Regions from separate parts of the Homo sapiens genome. Here region 1 is linked to region 2. Evidence: promoter capture Hi-C in human tissues and cell types (Jung and others, 2019). All regions are on one chromosome and are shown on one strand. Each heading gives the region's core, a stretch centred on a gene start or on the middle of the fragment in contact. The rest is flanking DNA. Distances are from core to core; before and after follow the strand shown. Region 1 has its middle 24 kb from the start of RAB12. Region 2 holds the start of PPP4R1 (protein phosphatase 4 regulatory subunit 1).

Region 1 (4,327 bases), core at 18-2,517, 1.0 Mb before region 2:
GAGTGGCATTTCCAAGTGTCTCCACAACCCAAAGAGCCTCATGAAGTGCCTCATCTTTTTTTTTAACTAGTAGGGGATGTGAGGTGCAACCATTTCCCCTTTCCCAAGGTGGCTTTGTCTTCTTTGCCCAGACCACTTGATCCCTAAAATCTTTACCAAAGTAACAGATTCTTGTATCTTCATGGTGTTTATCTCTCACCCTCAGCCACTCTCATATTTTACTAGGGCCTCTAGAGTTCTTGCCAATTTATACTCAGCAAGTCCACTAAGCATGATATCATCAATAAAGTAAACTGGCATGGCGGTTGTGGAATGTCTAGGTAATCAATGTTTCAATAGATTTTATGATGACAAAGAATAGGAGAGTTGACAAAGTCCTGGAGTACTTTCCTGTAAAAGCAAGCTGCTTTTGATACTTTTATTGATGACAATTGAAAAAAATGCATTTGCCAGATCAATAGTTGCATGCCACATGCCAAAACAGGAGCCCACGTGCTCCCATAAAGACATCACATCCAGCACAGCTGGTGCCACTGGCTACCAATTGTTTATGTTTGTATAATCCACTGGCCTCTGGCATGGTCCATCGGGGGTGTGCAGGGACCACCCAGAGAATTTACGAGGATATGATGGGGTTCACACCCCCTACATCCTTCATCTTTGATGGTGCTGATCACTGCAGTGTCTCCCAGGATGTGGTATTACTTCTGATTTACTTCCCTGACAAAGCAATGAAAAAAGGAAGCTCTTGTCACCCACTGGCCAAGGGTGCCCCACAGGAGTTAACTCCTTTGTGTGTAGGTTACACATGCACAGGTGCTAAGCAGGTGCCATGGATGGCATCCAGGAAGCCCTGGGGAGGGGAGTGAGAGGTGCTTGGCATGGGCCTGTGGGGACTCAAGGCATCACCAGGCTGCACCTTCACAAAGCCATCAGAGCCCGCACTATCTGGTGGCTGCAACTGTAGTTGGACAATGTGTGAGTGAGGCTGAGAGGATCTGAATAAGCGCCGGAGGCATCTTGTACACTGAATCCTTAGCAGGCCAGTAGGCAGAGACAGAAGGAGACACATAGGATCTTCTGTGGGATTGACAGGTCTCCAAAGGCTGGAACCCTTTAAGCAGCTGGCTCAGGACTCAAAGCAGTAGAAGCACTCAACAAACATTTTTTGGATGCAAAAACTAAGAAATTAATTAAATAATAAGTCAACAATTATTGAAAGATCCAGGTCACATTAAAAGATGTGGCAAACATGGATTTCACCGTACCTTCCAAGCCTGAAATGAAAAGTGTCCCTGGGAAGCCAGGTGAGCCTGAGTATACCTGGGCACAGACTGGGGGCCATGATAGACAGCGAGAATGTCCCCCAACACAGACCAGGAAGCAGCACAGCACTGTGGCTGAGGGGTTCTGGGTCTAAGAGGGTTCGACAGGCCCCATGTTACTCAGAGGGAAACCCATTTGCTCTGATCAAATATCTTACAGAGGTAGACAGAGCTAAGAGATGAGGTCATCAGGAGACAGGGTCTAAGGTTAGCCCACTTCCTCATAAAGGCTGGGTGACTCCCTGGCTCTCTGCGCCTCATGCCCAGGTACAAGGAAGAACTTGGTATGGGCGGCGGAGGACTTTGGCTTCTGACTGCCAATTCTTTCTCCCCGGTGGGGAAAACAGAGAGCTTCAGTCGCCAGGCAAGTGCTAAGATGTCTCCTGCGCTAGTAAAGTTGGAGAGGAAGGTTTAAGTAGAGAACAAAATAGAGAGGGAGGGAGGGAGAAGAGGAGAGAGGGGAAGAGGGGAAGGGGAGAGGGAGGGAGGACAGAAGGAGGAGCAGCAGCAGGAGGAGCAGGAAGTGGAGACAATTTTTAAAGTTGTCTTTTATTTTGGGGATGGAAAGCAGTAGTTCCATCATTAACAAGCCTTTATTCCAAATAAAAGGACTAGCCCCAGTGTGGAGCAGTCCCGTCCCGCTCTGCAGATGAAATTAAGGCAGCAAGTCAAAAAGCAAGCATGCATTGTCTGGGTAATGCAGTGGCTTAGGCACCGACATTCTCTGCAAATCCCTACTTGGAGAGCCCGACCTGGTCTCGGGGCTGCCTGCGGAAAGCACTGGAGAGCAGTCATTTCACACCATTCACACCGGCCAGCATAGGTTAAATCTTCCCAAGTTTGAATGCCTCTTTCCAGGGAAGAACAAGAAAAATCCAAAACGTTTTAAATAGTATGACCATCAATGAGGAAGAACATTTGAGATAAATAATAAAACTGTCATCTTGATCGAGGTACAAATCTTCTTCCAAAGTTTTAAAATCCTTTGTGTGCTTCCTCACTTGCTTATGGATTTGGGGTGGACACAAAGGCATGCCTTATTTGTCTTATTTGTAGCTCCATTTTTTCTTAACAGTTCTTCCATGTCTCCTCATTTTGAACAATCAAGTGGTGAAATAAGCAATTTGAATGCCCTCCTTTTTAAACGCTAAAGTGCTATATAAATGAAAAGTATTATCATTTCCAGTTTTAACTCGAAAGCAGAGTGATGTAAGGCCTCCAATGCCTAATTTCTTTAAATGGATGGACTGAGAAAAAAATACAGTTGCATTGTTTAATTTTCCAAAGAAAAAACAGTTTTCAAAGATGAAGTAATATTATTTTATTTAAAATTAATGTATTAATAAATACAAAAATATGTATTGTGTAGTAATAATTATTGCTGGGTGGGGCTGTGGGTGGCTTTCTGGGAGGCATTATATAGTACATAATAGAATATAAAAATGGAAGTTTTGAGCCGTGTACAGTGGCTCGTGCCTGTAACCCCAGCACTTTGGGGGCCCATGGCAGGAGGATCATTTGAGCCTAGGAGCTCGAGATGAGCCTGGGCAACATAGTGAGATACCATCTCTACAAAAAATTAAACACCTAGCCGGGTATGGTGGTGCATGCTTGTGGTCCCAGCTACTCAGGAGGCTGAAGCAGGAGGATCACTTGAGTCTGGGAGTTTGAGGCTGCAGTCACAATTGCGGCAATGCACTCCAGCCTGAGCAACAGAATGAGACCCTGCTTCTACAAAAATAAAAATAAAAATAAACTTTTTTAAAATGGAAGGTTTGGCTGAGACCCTAAGATGAGAAAGATCGTGTGCCAACCTGAGGTTCCAAGTAAGGAGTCTAGCTTTTAGGGTCTTTGGTGAGAAGCTTTAACCCTCACCTATATCAAAGGCCAGAATGTGTGGAGATGGGAGGGATTTGTGCAGAGACTTTTTAGGGAAAGCTGTTGATCCGTTCTAAGTCCCAGCTCCCAAGGAGGAAAAATGGGGAGGTTTGTCCTCAAGCTGCTAAGAGGGGCACTGAAGGTGCCACATGGAGAGCTGCTGTGTGTCCCATGTGGTAGGGGGCCCAGGAGGCTGGTGTGTGACTCCCACTTGAGAAATCTAAAGGGTGAGCCATGTGGCAGCTCTGCCGATAGCTGAGGGGAGGACGCCTGCACCCCCAGGATGCTGGGGCAGAGGTGATGGGGTCATGCCTGTGAGAAAGCCATTGTGGGTTACTTTAGGTTTTGTCCAAGAGGGCCAGCTGGAGGGGCACAGAGCTGCAGGTGTTGCTGGATTCCCATGGCCATGGGGAAACCACCGTGAGCCACAGGAGAAGCATCCCCCCGAGTTAGGGAACTTCCAGCGGGAAGTGCCCACCTTCGTGGGTGGCTGGAGGAGGGGCTCTGAGGAACCCACACAAACCTCCACGGGAGAAGGCATTGGCCCTGAACGTCTGTCAGGAACAGAGAGCAAAAAGGAAACTGGTGACAGCGACAGTTCCATCCTGTCAGCCCTCTCTTGTCTCCCAGTTACTCCCTATGAAACCAGCAACCCACAGGCATCGGAAACCATGGTGAGCAAACTGGAGGATGTGTGGGAGGCGGAGAACGTTGGATGGGGAGAGAGAGAAGGACCCATTGTCTAGCCCCCTGGCTCACAGCAGCCTCCCCACCTGCAGCTGCCCTCGATGATGGAAGAGAGACGCCTCCTCTTACCCCAGCCTTGAGTTTAGAATATTGCAGGGGACTGGAAATGCCCATTTCTGTGTGGAGACACTTCGTATCACACATCAGTGACCTGAAATGTTAAAGGACTGCCTGAGTTCTTATCCAGGGACAGGGAAGAACTAGCCCTGCTGAATACATTTAAAAGAATAGTGACAGATAAAATACAATGACTTCAGGATGGCAGCCCATAAATCATGTCTGCCCAATGCACATGTTACGAGTGTTCAGAAAACAGAAATGAAACTTTGAAAACCTGATGTCTCCCGAAATTACCTCTATTTGTTTTTAAATATATG
Region 2 (4,390 bases), core at 1,891-4,390:
TCTCAGTCCTTTACCAACCATCTTGCTCTCTAAGGAGGCACCATGGCCCAGTGTTCCCCCTCATTCTTTCTCCCTTCACAAGAGATGGGAAGTGGTCCTTCAACTGGCCATATGTCCAAAAGTCCTTTGTTCCTGAATATTCTGGGTAAAGGTATCACCTGTAAAAACTTTAGTAACTGAGAAAAATAAGCAATTACTCTAACAAAGCCTTCAACCAAATTATGAATATGCAAATAACTATTGTGCCTTCAATGTCTGTTTTATCCTAAATTAAAATGCACAGGAAACAGAATCTTTAAAAAGTTAGTTGCAGCCGGGCGCAGTGGCTCACGCCTGTAATCCCAGCACTTTGGGAGGCCAAGGCAGGTGGATCACCTGAGGTCGGGAGTTCGAGACCAGCCTGATCAACATGGAGAAACCCCGTCTCTACTAAAAGTACAAAATTAGCCAGGCGTGGTGGCACACGCCTGTAATCCCAGTTACTTGGGAGGCTGAGGCAGGAGAATCACTTGAACCCGGGAGGCAGAGGTTGCGGTGAGCCGAGATCGCGCCATTTTGCACTCCAGCCTGGGCAACAAGAGTGAAACTCCATCTCAAAAAAAAAAAAAATTTAGTTGCGAGCATTGGCAGCATCTTTAAGTACCTTCATTCTGTAAGGTTCAACATCAGTGTTTCCTTCTCTGCTCTTCTTTTAAGCTTCCCTTGCTCTTTTCTCATAACAGCAAACATAATCATAATCATCGCTGTTTACCAGGAATTGTTCCAAGTGCTTCAGAGGCACTAACTCATGTACAGCCTTGAACAACTCTATGAAGTAGGTAATATTTCTTATGCCTACTTACAAATGACAAAACTGAGGCATAGGGAGGTTAAGTGAGTTGCCCAAGTCTGCCCAAAAAGACACTGCTAAGACAAACAGAGCAGCCTGGCTCCAGTGGTAACTGTAATACTGTACTGTACACCTAGATTCAAAACTGCTTGTAAACCACTAGAGGGCATGGGTTGTGCCCATCTTTCTCAAAGCTCCATCCCCAGTACCTGGCAGAGTGTTGAAACTCATGGTTGAATTTTTCACAGGTATGCCTTCCCCTCTACACTGTGCTTCTTGGGGGCTAAGGAAGAAACTGAGACTGCATTTCATCCTTCAGGAGTGAGAAGTTTTTGCTCCAGTCATAAATACTTGCTGAATAAATGAATCTTCTATTTACGAAGTCGAACATAAATATAAAAAGCCCTCCTCGAGGTAACATAATCAGGGCCATTTCTCCAATCCTAACCTGGCAAGAGATCTGAAATCAACAGATGCCTTAAATAATATCTCAAACTTACTATTAGGCAGATAAGTGGCTTAAGGTAAACATTAAATAAAATGTTAAAGCTGCCCTTCACTACATGAGTACTGCTCCCTTTAAGAGAGCTGTTTTGAGCCACCTCACTAAAAACACAGACTTAGCAAAAGTTTGGATGTGGTTCATTTACTTTAAAGATAAATTACTCGTTTCAGATAATCCATCTAAATAGTAAATCCCCCTTACTTTACTCAAAACAACCAGGAATCTAAAAATTAAGTTTACTCTGAGTAAGGGAACCACATTAGACAATGCTAAGGATTAACTACAGAGTATTTAAAAGAGTAATTTCAAACTGCAGCCATCTCTGAAATTACTTATACAGGTACTAGACAGTCAATCTCAGCATCCGGTAGGCTTTCCACTAAACAGACCACAATCCTACTATGGTTATCATCTCAACTCAGAACAATTTCTTGGTCCCTTATGTATCCCATGATCTTCGCTTATATATTTTGCACACTCTGCATTTTTAAAATGCATCTCAAAACCTATTGATTTTTTGATGGGTCGCTATTTTGGAAGATTAGCAAGAATAGAAACTATTTTAAGTTAACTGCAATTTGTCACTTCTTTCAATACAAACCTGCTTAACTCTTTTGTCTTTTCTATCGTGACCCAAATTATTTTCTGAGGCTTAGAAAAGTACATATAAGACGAAAAATTCCTTTCTAAATATCAATTCCGTCGCCATCAGGAAATGTCAGAAACTTTGTCTTTTTAAAAATAAAAGCGTCAACTCTTTAAAAACTTCAGTACCTCAAAGGAAAGCTGCACTGTTAACACTGAAGGAGGGCTGGGTGATTTCTGAACATCCGCATTAAAGAAATATGCTCTCCAAACCTAGTAATTCCTGCGGAGGCCACACCTTCTAACCTTCTCGTAATCCACTAATCAAATCGGGAGCATCTGAAAACTGCTACCAGCCAAAGTAAAATGACAGGTATGTCATCCTCAAACAATCCAAAACCGGGTCGGGGAGCCCAGACGGCTAGCCGGGGCCCAGGCTGACCCCCGGGCGCTCCTGGAAGAGCGACTCTAAGGAAACACACCTCCCGCGCGAGCCTCTTCCTTCCTAGAGTGACGGGGGAAGGGGACACCAGGGGCAGAAACACACCCAAACCCCACTTCAAATCCTGCCCCACCGCTTCTCCTTCCAAAACAGCCGCGCCACTGCTGAGCCCGCAGGCGATTCGGGGGCGCCGGGAGAAGAGAGCGAAGGGCGGAAAGCGAACTTGGGCGTTACTCCGGGCGTCTCCCTCCCCCAGCGGAACCTGGGCGCGCCGTTTCCTCACGGACGCGAGATTTTCCCCCCCGATCGCCACCCCAGCCCGCCTGGGGCCGCCCTCGCCCACCGTCCCCTCAGCCAGCCAGGGCCCGGCCCAGGCCTCGCCGCCGCCCGCCCTCCCCGGCCGCTCCCCGCGGACTGCCAGGCCACCGCGAGGCCGGGCCACTCACATCCGTCTGCGTCCTCCTGCAGGTCCTCCTGAAGCAGCGAGAGGTCTGCGCCGAGGGGAGAGAAGAAAGGCCCGGTCAGCGCCCCGGGGCCCGGCGCGACGCCCCCCCCCCGCCCGCCTCCCCCCCGCCCCGGGGGCGCCTTCCCGCGCCGGGACCCCACGCCGGCCCCGGCCCGGCAGCCACTCAGGGCTGCGGCGGAGGGCGGGTGGGCTCGAGGAGCCGCCGCCGCCCGGAGAACAGGGGGCCACGTACCCGCCATCTTGTGGTCGCCCCCTCCTCCGCGGCCGCCCGGGGAGCCGGGGCTACATGGAGCGGCGCGAGCCGGGGAGCCGGTGGACGCGCGCGGGAGGGGCGGCGGGGAGGAGGAGGGCCGGGCTGGCGGGGGCGCGCGCGCGGGGCGGGCCGAGGGCCCGGGCCTGCCGCGGGCGGCGCGGCTCCCGGCCGCCCGGGCCCCCGGCCGCGCCCCGCCCCGCCCCGCCTGCCCCTCCGCGCGGCTCCCGGGCGACCGGCGCTCCCGCCTCCCGCCTTTCCCGCTGCTTGCCGGGTCCCGGCCCGGCGACGCGCGCTCACACCCTCCTCCCGAGCCGCCCTCACGCCGAGCGCTGCGGACGGGGGCGCGCAACCTGCCGCCGGCCGGGACCCTGCGGCGAGTGCCGGAACCCGGCCGGGCGGGGCCTCCCGCGGCCCGGCCGCTTTATTGGGTCACCGGCCTCGCCCACCGCCCTGCCAGCCGCAGCCATCTCGGCGGGCGCGCCGCTCGCAGCCAGCGCCCCATCCCCAGGCCTGCACGTACGTCGTCGGCGATCCGGGGCCGGGGGCGGCTCCGAGGTCGTCGGGGCCGGGGTCCCACCTCCTCTTGGAGGAAGCGCCGCCTCCCCACCCGCCCGGGGCCCTCGCCAAGTGGCTGCTAACAAAGCCCAGGGCCCGGCTGCGGGATGGTTGACTGACAAAGTCATGCCTGCCTAGCCAGCTTCCTCGTGCAGCACGGTGAAGGCTGGGGCGCCGGGTTTTTACTCCCACGTCCTGCCAACTCGAGCTGACAAGGCGGGCAATCCACCAGCGGGAGCGTTGGCAGGCCCGGGGTCAGATCCTGATTCAGCCAGTTAATTGGTAGGAGTGGGGCCCATTTGTAGAATGAAGGTGATAACTGCCTCGTGGGGTTATTGGCATTAAATGAAGAATGTAGGGAACCTAGCATGGTTCTTGATGTCTAGGAGGTGCTCGGTGAAGGGTGCCTATGATTCGCTTTGTCTTCTAAATACTTTTGGCAGCACTTGAGGTGTTAAAGTCTGTATCCCAGACTTTATTAGTCTTGTTGTTTTACGTGACTTAAGCGATTAGCTCAAACGCCCAAGTACAAAATGGGGCTAAACCCAGGTTTTCCGACACGATTCTACCTCCATGGCTCTATCTCCAGCTCCACCCAAGGCCTCCAAAATGGTGTTCTCCTAAAGTGACCAACAAAACACCAAGCTGTGTCATGGTGCCACTTTGGCGATGTGGTCTCTTAGGAGAGGGAATTCTAAGTAGTTAATTAGCTTGTTCCTTTCTACGTTGTAGTCTTGACCAAGGACAATGTGTTG

Evidence for each region. The method cuts DNA at HindIII sites, captures the fragments that hold promoters and counts their contacts. A contact is called where the count stands out against the background at its distance.
Region 1: a fragment that was not itself captured here is called in contact with the fragment with the promoter of PPP4R1 in region 2 in 1 of the 25 tissues and cell types used here (lymphoblastoid cells).

The regions. Positions count from the first base shown.
Region 1 is chr18:8,582,933-8,587,259 of GRCh38, forward strand. No RefSeq gene overlaps it. Among named protein-coding and RNA genes, the nearest start is that of RAB12, 24 kb to the right of the region's middle. The HindIII fragment of the contact is 7,472 bases long and covers 1-4,327 here.
Region 2 is chr18:9,611,419-9,615,808 of GRCh38, forward strand. It overlaps PPP4R1 (protein phosphatase 4 regulatory subunit 1), which reads right to left and starts at 3,141. Exons shown (of 20, transcript NM_001042388.3): 1 at 3,060-3,141; 2 at 2,808-2,852. The coding sequence starts at 3,066. PPP4R1-AS1 (PPP4R1 antisense RNA 1) reads left to right here and starts at 3,389. Exons shown (of 3, transcript NR_110773.1): 1 at 3,389-3,596. RefSeq lists an enhancer at 2,258-2,337 and silencers at 2,608-2,857, 2,958-3,227, 3,328-3,837. The HindIII fragment of the contact is 9,629 bases long and covers 1-4,390 here.